Linked DNA regions of Homo sapiens: region 2 is linked to region 1. The links are contacts of gene promoters, found by promoter capture Hi-C in human tissues and cell types (Jung and others, 2019). All regions are on one chromosome and are shown on one strand. The core of a region is centred on a gene start or on the middle of the fragment in contact, and the rest is flanking DNA. Distances in the headings are between cores, read along the strand shown. Region 1 holds the start of ZNF737 (zinc finger protein 737). Region 2 overlaps ZNF66 (zinc finger protein 66).

Region 1 (5,813 bases), core at 1,322-3,821:
CCCAGCTTTCCAGGGCTCTGTAGCTTCTCTCAGGATAAAGCCTCCTTCTATGGCTGGGGTGAGCAGGCTGGGACATGTGCAGGGGAGGCTCCCCAGAAAAAAACTGAGTCTTTAGTAACATCCTGTTGCAGGCTTAATATCAGCCTTAGCTTGGAGTCACTAGGTTCAAGCTTTGATTTCCATGTCAGAGTTATTCACTTGGTTTTTGAAACTAAGTGTTAGAAAAATCCAGGGAAATTACTCAAACACAGTGTTTACATAAGAAGGAAGTGCTTACTTTTTTTTTTTTTTTTTTTGAGACGGAGTCACCCTGTGGCCCAGGCTGGAGTTCAATGGCATGATCTTGGCTCACTGCAACCTCTGCCTCCCCGGTTCAAGACCTTCTTGTGCCTCAGCCTCCCATGTTGTTGGGAATACAGGCGTATGCCACCACACCCGGCTAATTTTTGTATTTTTAGTAGAGATGGGGTTTCATCATGTTGGGCAGGCTGGTCTCAAACTCCTGACCTCAAGTGATCCACTCACCTCGGCCTCCCAAAGTGCTGAGATGACAGGCGTGAGCCACTGCACCTGGCTAAGGTGCTTGCATGTGATACCTCCATAAGAAAAGTAAATATATCTACTTCTTTCAGAAAATATATGTATTATTTTATTATTTATCTTAAAAATAAGTAGGCCTGGTGCGGCAAATCATGCTTGTAATCCCAGCACTTTGGAGGGCCGAGGCAGGTAGATCACGATGTCAGAAGATCACGACCATTTTGGCCAACATGTTGAAACCCCCTCTCTACTTAAAATACAAAAGAATTAGCTGGGTGTGGTGGCACGTGCCTGTAATCCCAGCTACTCAGGAGGCTGAGGCAGGAGAATTGCTTGAACCCAGGAGGTGGAGGCTGCAGTAAGCCGAGATCACGCCACTGCACTCCAACCTGTTGACAGAGCGAGACTCTGTTTCAAAAAAAAAGTAAATAAATAAAATAATGTAGTAAAAAATTAGTCATATGGGAACACTTCTAGAAGGTACCATGTTTCATCACATATAATTTAGCATTTAACTCAGAACTCAACAGGATATAGAACTGAGATATTCACTGTCACAAATTTCCCCTGCAAAAAGAGGAACTAATGTGTTGACGAATCTATGTAACTCATCAATTATCTACCACATTTTCCTGTGGAAATATATTCATTGTCTACAGCCAAAATGGAAGAGAGATTTTCCCTATTTTTTTCCTTGGTAACTAGCATTCCTGGCTAACATACTGAAACTCCATCTCTACTAAAAATACAAAAATTAGCTGGGCGTGGTGTCGCGTGCCCATAGCCCCAACTACTCCAGAGGCTGAAGCAGAAGAATGCTTGAACCTGAGAGGCGGAGGTTGCAGTGAGCCGAGATCTGACACTGCACTCCAGCTCTGGCGACAGAGCGAGACTCCGTCTCAAAAAAAAAAAAATAAAAATAATAAATTGAGGAACATGGGGTACACTTGAGGCCTTGCTTGAGACACATGTGGAAAATGCCAGGGAAAATCAGTCCGCTGTGGCGTGTGAAAATAATTAAGTGGCAGGCAATTAGACTGAAGAAGCTCTAGTCCCTGGATTTCTACCTCAAAAAAAAAAAAATCTAAGCTCATGTGCATTTTTTGGGAAATTACTACATTAGGGGAAACAAAATTCAGGCTTAAGCAACTATAAACTGCCAATTAAACTGTAATTACATAACCAGGAATTTTTTTTTTTTTTTTGAGACGGAGTCTCACTGTCGCGCAGGCTGGAGTGCAGTGGCAAGATCTCAGCTCACTGCAACATCCACCTCCGGAGTTCAAGCGATTCTCTCACTTCTGCCTCCCGAGAAGCTGTGATTACAGACATCTGTCATCACACCCAGCTAATTTTTGCATTTTTAGTAGACATGGGGTTTCCCCATTTGGGCCAGGCTTATCTTGAAGTCCTGACCTCAAGTTATCCGCCTGCCTCGGCCTCCCAAAGTGCTGGGATTACAGGCGTGAACGACTGCGCCCGGCCCCATAAATTTTGAATAGCAGAAAACAGAAACTGTGAACTCCACGGACCAAAGCTCTTCCCATTCATGAACCTGCACCCCGAGTCAGGATTCTCCCCTGACGACCCTCTGGTGGTCCCTGCACATTCTGGGAGAGACGGGAGGCTGCGGTTGCAGAGCTGCCCACGGAGCGCTCCAGGCCAGAGCAGTCACTACGCAGGGAAGACACAGGACGCCAGGGGGCCCGGCTGTCAGCGTAGCCGCCAAATTATGGCTGAACGGGACTGAGGCCGAGCTGGGCAAGGAGAACTCAGGGTGCAGATTGTGGAGCTGACTGCGCAGAGGCCTGAGTCCCGCCACAGCCACTTCCCACCGGTTCCAACCAGCCTATCCCCCTCTCTCGGGATGTCGGACCGGCACTCTCACCATTTCTAGGCTTCCAGGGGCTCCCGGGCGTCTTAGCTGTGGATCTCCCAATACCTGCAGGACACAGGGCCACAGAGGCTGGGCCTCTAGGAGCAGAGGACACACAGCAGTGAAGACAAGACCTGGAGCTCCGGCTGCAGAGACAAAGGCCCCGCAAAACCCGGAAGCCTTCCGCTTCACTCTGGCTGCGTGCCTGATTGGACGGCTTCCAGCCCAGCGTCCCTGATTGGATAATGCTTAAATCCCCGCCCCCTCAGGCCCTGAGTGACAGAAGATATGATCAGATGCTGGGTTAAGTGAACAAAGAGTGCCAGCCTAAGCAGCTGGCTTTTCAAACAGTGCTTCCTCCCTGAGCTGAGCCAGGCCCACCCCAGAGCATGGGAATATTTTATCTCTTGTTTACTCTCTTTCTTGTTGAATGTATTAAAAAGGTGAACAGAAGTATTTTGCTGTCATTAATAATACATAAAATTTTTGTTCAACAGAAAATCAACTTTTACTTTGGTAATGGTAAAATCTATTAAAGCTAATTTTAATAAAACCTTATAAATAAATCAAATTTGTCATTTTTGAGCACTCCAGATTTACATATATATTTTGTAATATCTCGTAATTTTAAAAAACTATTTATATTTTATTTTTGTCCACATTCTTTTTATTTTTTCAATTTGAAACAATCTTTAATTTCCAACAGCTATAGGAGATAGAAATCATTTAGAGGCAGGCACGGATAGTTCACGCTGGTAATTCCAACACTTTGGGAGGCCAAGGTGAGCAGATCACTTGAGGTCAGGAGTTCAAGACAAGCCTAGCCAACATGGTGAAACCCCATCTCTAATAATAACTAATAAATAATAATAATAACTAATAATATAAAAAGTTACCTGGGTGTGGGGGTGCACATCTGTAGTCCCAGCTACACCGGAGGCTGAGGCAGGAGAATCACTTGAAGCCAGGAGGCGGAGGTTGTGTAACAGCCCAAGGGGTTTATTTTACCCTTTGCCTAGACAGAGCCGATTCATCAAGACAGGGGAATTTGTGGAGGAAAAGTCACATATTAAATCTGAACTCAATTGAATGTGGACACAAACAATTGTCACCAAGTCCCAGAACAGGTTGTGTGAGCCCCTGAGGTGTTCATCCAGCGCTGTATTGAAGAAATCTCTATTTCAATCTATTCCTATATATTAGTTGTTGAAAAACAATAGACAATCACAAAAAAAGGTTGACCTTTTTGTGTTCCTTGAGGCAAGTCGTGAAGGGCTCTCATCACTGGGCCTTATGCCAAACAACTCGTTACAAAAGAGCTAAGGTCCCAGACCGCCCTGAAGCTTCATAAGACCTCTCCTTGTCTGTGTACGATGGACGGGTGGCTGACTCTAGAGCTGTGGCTGTTGCCTCCCTCTCTGGTGGTGAATCCCCCATAGTCTGGTGAGGGAAAATATATATATATATATATATATATATATATATATATCTTTTCCCATTTCCTCGTCTTATTAAGATTGGCTTATTACATCAATCTGCTTATTATATTTATTTGCTTATTATATCATTTGCTTATTATATTATTACTTTATTATGTCTGCATTGCCATTTACGTGGGATAAAAGTTGTTTACCCTTAATGGTATTGTGTGTGTGTCTTTGTTTCTCCCCTCTCACATTTGCCTCACAGAACATTTTTGGCATCACAAATAGGATTTGAAAACAAAAGTGTACCCCTTTTTGACTAGAAGGACAGGGCTGGAGGGCTCAGGGACTTCCCATATCCTGGGATGGGAACTCCCCCAGTTCTCCCTCTTGGTGATTAAATGGTCAAGGGGAACTGGTTTTTGTGGGAATTGGGAATCTAAATTAGTGCAGTTTAAACCTTTGACTGTGCGGGAAGTGCTGCGGGGGATTCCAGTCAGCAAAGGAGATGCTGAGGGATCTCCCGGAGTGGATGGTGTTTGCTTACTGCTTATAAGTTAATGTATCGTGATAGGGGCTGGTTGCTACAAGATAAATGTAAGCGGAAAAGGAAAATGCTAATCTGACTTCCAGACTGGCCCAATGCCAGTCAATGTCTTGACTGATAAAGCTCAAAGCTATCAGCCTATCGCTGAAAAAAGCAGCTGTCCAGGTGGCCCAGTCAGGATAAAACTGAAGAACTAGTCAGCCGGGGCTTCGAGCAGGTAAAAACCCAGTTCCTATTTCAAAAATGGGAAATTAACCCTAGTAAAATTCAAGGACCTGCACAAAGTATAAAATTCCTTGGCATTTTATGGAATGCAAATAAATAGTCCATTTTACCAAAGGCTAAGGCTAAAATACTAGATTTTGCAACCCCTACCACTAATGTACTGGCTTGTTTGGTTTCTGGAGACATCATATTCCCCACTTGGGTAACATTTTACAACCTCTGCATGCAGCCACTAGAAAACGCTATGACTTTCACTGGGGAGAGAAAGAGAGCATGGCCTTTGAACAAGCTAAACAAGCAGTGCAACTGGCCCTGGATCTATGGCCCATACGGGATGGGCCAGTAGAACTGCAAGTAACTGTCCTAGATCAATATGCTAATTGGAGCCTTGGGCAGAAACAAGATGGGAAGAGGGTACTTTTCGGGATTTGGACCCAGAAACCACCAGAGGGAGGAAAAGCTTATACCTCTTTCAAGAAGCAACTGTTAGCTTGCTATTGAGCTTTGCTGGAAATAGAACACCTATGCTTCAACCATGATGTTTTTATGAGACCTGAAATTCCTATTATGACTTGAGACATGAGTTCCCCCAAAACCCACCAGATAGGGCACACCCAAGAAAGTAGCATCATATAATGGAAATGGCACATACAAAACCAGCCTAAGCCAAAACCAAAGAGGGTATCACTTTCACATGAGGATGGACAAAACTTGCCAGCTCAGGAAACACTGAACGAGTCCTGCAGATAGAGAGGTAAACACCCCCCTCCCCAACCGCCCATCAAATGGGATCAGAAACATACTTGGTTTACTGATGGACCCACCAAATACATTGGTGGGACCCAATGCTGGAAGGCTGTGGCTTATAATCCTCTTAAATACATAAGCATTTCTGATGAAGGAAGGAGTGGGAGCATTCAGTTAGCTGAACTGGCAGCCATCCTCTGAGCTATTCAGGAGGAGACCAGAGGGATTTGTCACTTGTATACGAACTCTTGCTCAGTAGCAAATGGTCTTACCACATGGATGCCCCAGTGGCAATGAAACAAATGGCTAATTGGGAATAAAGAGGTTTGGCGAGAACAATGCTGGTAAGGTATCTGAATCCTGGTGCACAACACATACCACTGTGTTCCATATTGTTTGTTGTTGTTGTTGGTTTTTTCCTAGCCCTGTCACCAAACTGAAGTGCAGTGGTGCA
Region 2 (5,637 bases), core at 117-2,616, 230 kb after region 1:
GTGCCTCATGCCTGTAATCCCAGCACTTTGGGAGGCTGAGGCAGGGGGATTACCTGAGGCCAGGAGTTTGAGACCAGCTGGCCAAAATGCTGAAACCCCAACTCTAATAAAAGTACAAAAAATTAGCTGCGGGCTGTGGCATGCACCTATAATCCCAGGACTCAGGAGGGTGAGGCAGGAGAATCACTTGAACTCAGGAGGTGAAGGTTGCAGTGAGTTGAGATCATGACATTGCACTGCAGCCTGGGCAACAGAGCAAGATTCTGTCTCAAGGAAGAAAAAAAAAAAAGAAAGAAAAAAATTTCTTCAAGATATTTCATCTTAATACAAACTTTCCACATTTCTGAGGTGAGTTATATTCTTCACTCTAAATTAGTGGTAATTCCAGAAATTTACTGACTTAAAATATTGTAGCTTCCACCTGAAAATCTACTTGCCACCACCAAGTTTTGATTCAGTAGTACCAGGTAGTAAAATTAGGAAACCTACAAATTGAAAGTATTTTCTTTTCTTTTCTTTTCTTTTCTTTTCTTTTCTTTTTTTTTTTTTTTTGAGACAGAGTCTCACTCTGTTCCCCAGGCTGGAGTGCAGTGGTGCAATCTGGGCTTACTGCAACATCCACCTCCCAAGTTTCTCCTGCCTCAGCCTCCCGAGTATGTGGGACTACAGGCACACATCACTATGCTCCGCTAATTTTTGTATTTTCAGTAGAGATGGGGTTTCACCATGCTGGCCAGGCTGGTCTCAAACTCCTGACCTTAGGATCTGCCTGCCTCGGCCTCCCAAGGTGCTGAGATTACAGGCATGAGCCACTGCACCAGGCAAATTGGAAGTATTTTCTAAATATTTAGAAATCTCTGTTACAAATTTGTATTTTGTTATTAATTTACTAGAATATTTTATCACATCATCTTTCCTGAGCACATTACTAGCTTGTAATTGGAGAATGTGAGCAAGATTCATGTTATTTATTTTTGATAAAACAGGTATTGTTGTCTCAAAGCCAGACCTCATCACCCATCTGGAGCAAGGAAAAAAACCTTCGACTATGCAGAGACATGAGATGGTAGCCAACCCCTCAGGTAGGTGTGAGTGAAAATGAATACAACAGACAACACAGTAAGAAGTCCAAGGTCAAAAAGAAAGCCAGTCCTTAAGGTGTGATTCTGGAAGCTGTGTTCCAAAGGAACTTCTGGGCAGCTGTTTTTTTTGTTTTTTGTTTTTGTTTTTGTTGTTTTAAATTTTGCTGTCACAAAGGGGCATATTGTCTTATGCTTCTAAATTCTCTAAAAATTCTACTTTTCTCTCAGTGAGCTTCCTTCACATTCACAGTGAGAGCCAAAGTCCTCTTCATGACATATAAGAGACAGCACAATCCAGCTGCTTTTTCATTGTTTTGGGGACACACAAATATCTTCCTAATTTTGAGAAACTGAAACTATTTTTTAGTTTTCTTTTTGTATCCGGTCTGAAATTTGTGAGAGTAGTAGTTTCTGTTGCATTTTTTTTTGTTCATTTTTGTGCACAGTCCATTCTATTTTTATTACTATATAGTCTTGAAATATAGTTTGAAATTGTAAGTACGATATTCTGTTTTCTTCTTTTTCCTCAAGATTGCTTTGGCTATTCAAAGTTTATTTTAGTTTCATGTAAATTTTAGAATTGTATTTTCCATTATTGTAAAAAAAAACACTGCAATTTTAATAGGAAGATTATTGAGTCTGTAAATCACTTTGGATAATATGATTCTTTAATAATATTTATTCTTTTAATTCATTGACATAAAATATTTTAAAATTAATTTTTATCTTCTAATTTTTTTATTTTGTTATTGTAAACTTTTTTTTACCTCCTTGGTTAATTTTTTTCTCAGGAATTTATTTAATGCTATATTAAATAAGATTTTTTCTTCCTCATCAGATAGTTTGTTTTAAGTGTAAGAAACCATACATATACTTGTGTGTTTAATTTTATATTTTGCTAATTTACTGAGTGTATTTATTAGTTTAGACAGGTTTTAATGTACTGTTTATGGTTTTTTAAATATAAAATTGTGTGATTTACAACCAGCAACTTTTTTTTTTTTTTTTTTGAGAGGGGCTTTCACTCTTTTTGCCCAGGCTAAAGTGCAATGGTGTGATTTTGACTCACTGCAACCTTTGCCTCCTGGGCTCAAGTGGCTCTCCTGCCTCAGCCTCCTGAGTAGCTGGGATTACAGGTGTTCACCACAACACCCAGCTACTTTTTTGTATTTTTTTGGTAGAGACGGTGTTTCACCATGTTGGCAAGGCTGGTCTCAAACTCCTGACCTCAGATGATCTGCCCGCCTCTGCCTCCCAAAATGTTGGGATTACAGCCATGAGCCACCATGCCTGGCTGGATTTTTTTATTTCTGTGAATAATTCTTCTGCCACATACTTCCATCACTACATTCAAATAGAAGCATTGACAATGGACACAATATAGTTTTGTATTGGTGTCTGAATTTGATGGAGTAAACACCTCTTCAAGTTTTCATAAACTGATTTTAGAAGCATTTCCTTAGGGAACTGTGTGGGTTTCTTTTTTTCTTTTTCTTTTTTTTTTTTGAGATGGAGTTTTGCTCCTGTTGCCCAAGATGGAGTGCAATGGTGCGATCTCATCTCACCACAACCTCCGCCTCTTGGGTTCCAGTGATTCTCCTGCCTCAGCCTCCCAAGTAGCTGCAAATACAGGCATGCGCCACCATGCCTGGGTAATTTTGTATTTTTAGTAGAGAAGGTGTTTCTCCATGTTGGTCAGGCTGGTCTTGAACTCCTGACCTCAGGCGATCCGCCCGCCTCAGCCTCCCAAATTGCTGGAATTACAGGTGTGAGGCACTGTACCCTGCCCAATTGTGTGGGTTTCTATGTAGGCAGAACTGACCATAAACTTGGCTCAGGTAACTGAAACTGAGTCATAGAACCGCTTCAGGGATCCCAGTAAAGTCCAAAGTCTGCAGGCCTGCCTACATTGTTGTAAATGGGTGCCTTCCTCCAGGTCTCTTGAATGTCAGGACCTCTGCCAGACTCTGACTGGGAGGAGTTTGGATTGGTTACAGAGTAAGTTCAGAATTCTCAGTGGGACCAAGTTGGGTGAACCCTATCTGGTCTGTAGCCATGAGTAGGGGTCCTGCAGTTTCCCACCTGACTAAGGGCAGGTTCTCTTCTGAATAGAACACTTCTCAATCTTAAGCTTTAGCAGCATTTCACAACTCCCTCCCTGGATCTCAAATCTCTCTTAGTGGCGTGTATTTTGGAGATGGGGTCTTGCTACATAACCCAGGCTGGTCTCAAAATCCTGGCCTGAAGCAGTTCTCCAACGTTAATGTACCATGTATCTGTCATTACAGGTGTGAGCCATAATGCCTATTTCTCTCATAAAGGCATTTTTGTCAGAGATGGCTGACTTTTTTTTTTGCTGTAAGGGAGTATGAAAATAGGGACTTTTAATCTTTTCATCTTACTGATGTCACTCTCCCTATACATTTTTACTTTCTATTTTCTCTTTCAGATTTGTCTGTAAATTTAGATTCAGATATTTAGGACAATGTGCTAGAATTTGCATGGTATGCCTGAAGTAAATTAGATAACTCATAGGGACCCATATTACTAAAATAGTTACTTATGAATTTAAGTTTGCTGCAGGCAAAAAGGAATTAAAGGATTTTCATCTTTTTTTTAGCCTATATCTAAATAATAACATAGTTTATTTCTCAATATTTGTTTTACATATCAGAGGGTCTAACCCTATTCTGCAAATTGTATAATTTTAAATTTAACAATGTAAGGCTACTCTTTGCTTCTAAAGTTTGATTATAGCTGTTTTATTTTGTGTAAAAATACCATATATTTAAAACATTAAAAGTAACTAGTTTCCTTAAAATGCTAATTTTTAAGTTTCTCATTAGAATCTTCTATTTATAATTATACTGCATATTCTCTGAAATTTTACTGCCACACAGGGCATGCCAATGATTCAAAATACCTGCATTTAGTGAGTACACACTAACAGTTAAATATTTCAGTTACCTAGAAACATTTTTATTTTTTTTGAGATGGAGTCACACTCTGTCACCCAGCCTGCGGTGCAGTGGTGTGATCGTGGCTCACTGCAACTTCCACCTTCCAGGTTCAAGCAATTCTCATGCCTCAGTCTCTCAAGTAGCTGGGGTTACAGGCATGTGTCACCACCCCTGGCAAATTTTTGTATTTTTAGTAGAGACAGGGCTTCACCAAGTTCGCCAGGCTGGTCTTGAACTTATGACCTCAGGTGAGCTGCTTGCCTTGGCCTTCCAAAGTGTTGAGATAACAGTTGTGAGCCACCACACCCGGCCTGACAATTTTTTAATAATGCATCAATGTTGCATGCTAGATTTTTTTTTTTTTTTTTTTTTTTTTTTTTTTTTTTTGAGACGGAGTCTCGCTGTCGCCCAGGCTGGAGTGCAGTGGCGCAATCTCGGCTCACTGCAGGCTCCGCCCCCTGGGGTTCACGCCATTCTCCTGCCTCAGCCTCCCGAGTAGCTGGGACTACAGGCGCCCGCCACCTCGCCCGGCTAATTTTTTGTATTTTTAGTAGAGACGGGGTTTCACCGTGTTAGCCAGGATGGTCTCGATCTCCTGACCTCGTGATCCGCCCGCCTCGGCCTCCCAAAGTGCTGGGATTACAGGCGTGAGCCACCGCGCCCGGCCGATTTTATGAGTAAACATTTATTATTGTTTTGAAGTTTTATATTAGTGTGTTTTTCAGTGTAGGTTTTTTTTTTTTGGGATGGAGTCTTGCTCTGTCACCCAGGCTGGAGTGCATTGGCGTGATCTTGGCTCACTGTAACCTCTTCCTCGAGGGCTCAAGTGATTCTTCTGCCTTGACCTCCTGAGTAGCTGGGACTACTGGCGTGTGCCACCATGCCTGGCTAATTTTTGTATTTTTAGAAGAGATGGGGTTTCACCATATTGGCCAGTCTGGTCTGGAACTGGTGACCTCGTGATTTGCACACCTCAGCCTCCCAAAGTACTGGGATTACAGTTATGATCCACTGCACCTGGCCTCAGTGTAGGTTTCTTACCATTAGTTTATTGGGTGTTTTGGTTTTACTTATGTATTATAATTTTAGACAATTTGCAATTCTGCTTGTATACTTTAAGTCAATTTTAGGTTTAAGAGATAAATTATGCATGTCTGTCACAATCAGGTTACATATGTATGTCTGTTTATAAATATGACACCAATTTTAGTTATGGCTTATCTTATACTCTTTCTTAGCTTATTTTCCATGGTAGTTTTATCTTGTCTAAGTAAGTACTCATGGGGATAGTCTTATTTTACCATGTGTTTAGTAATTAATATGTATTTCCTTTCATGAGAGAAACATTTTTGTGATTTGAAGGTAATTTTCAAAAAAATATGTAATTTTTTTTTCAGTTTTTCTTTAAAAAAATTGTTTTAAAAACACATAATGTAAAATTTACCATCTTAAATCTATTGAAGTGTACATTTCAGGGCCAGGCGTGGTGGTGGCTCTGATCTGTAATCCCAGGATTTTGGGAGGCCAAGACAGGAGGATACCTGGAGCCCAAAAGTTTGAGACCAGCCTGGGCAGCATATGGAGACTCTCCTCTA

What was found. The method cuts DNA at HindIII sites, captures the fragments that hold promoters and counts their contacts. A contact is called where the count stands out against the background at its distance.
Region 2: a fragment that was not itself captured here is called in contact with the fragment with the promoter of ZNF737 in region 1 in 1 of the 25 tissues and cell types used here (thymus).

The regions. Positions count from the first base shown.
Region 1 is chr19:20,563,210-20,569,022 of GRCh38, forward strand. It overlaps ZNF737 (zinc finger protein 737), which reads right to left and starts at 2,572. Exons shown (of 4, transcript NM_001159293.2): 1 at 2,429-2,572. The coding sequence starts at 2,431. All of the region lies in intron 2 of LOC105372316 (a long non-coding RNA gene), which reads left to right. RefSeq lists enhancers at 2,005-2,164, 2,375-2,424. The HindIII fragment of the contact is 4,540 bases long and covers 1-4,415 here.
Region 2 is chr19:20,792,797-20,798,433 of GRCh38, forward strand. It overlaps ZNF66 (zinc finger protein 66), which reads left to right. Exons shown (of 4, transcript NM_001355197.2): 3 at 987-1,082. Among named protein-coding and RNA genes, the nearest start is that of ZNF66, 19 kb to the left of the region's middle. The HindIII fragment of the contact is 8,007 bases long and covers 1-5,370 here.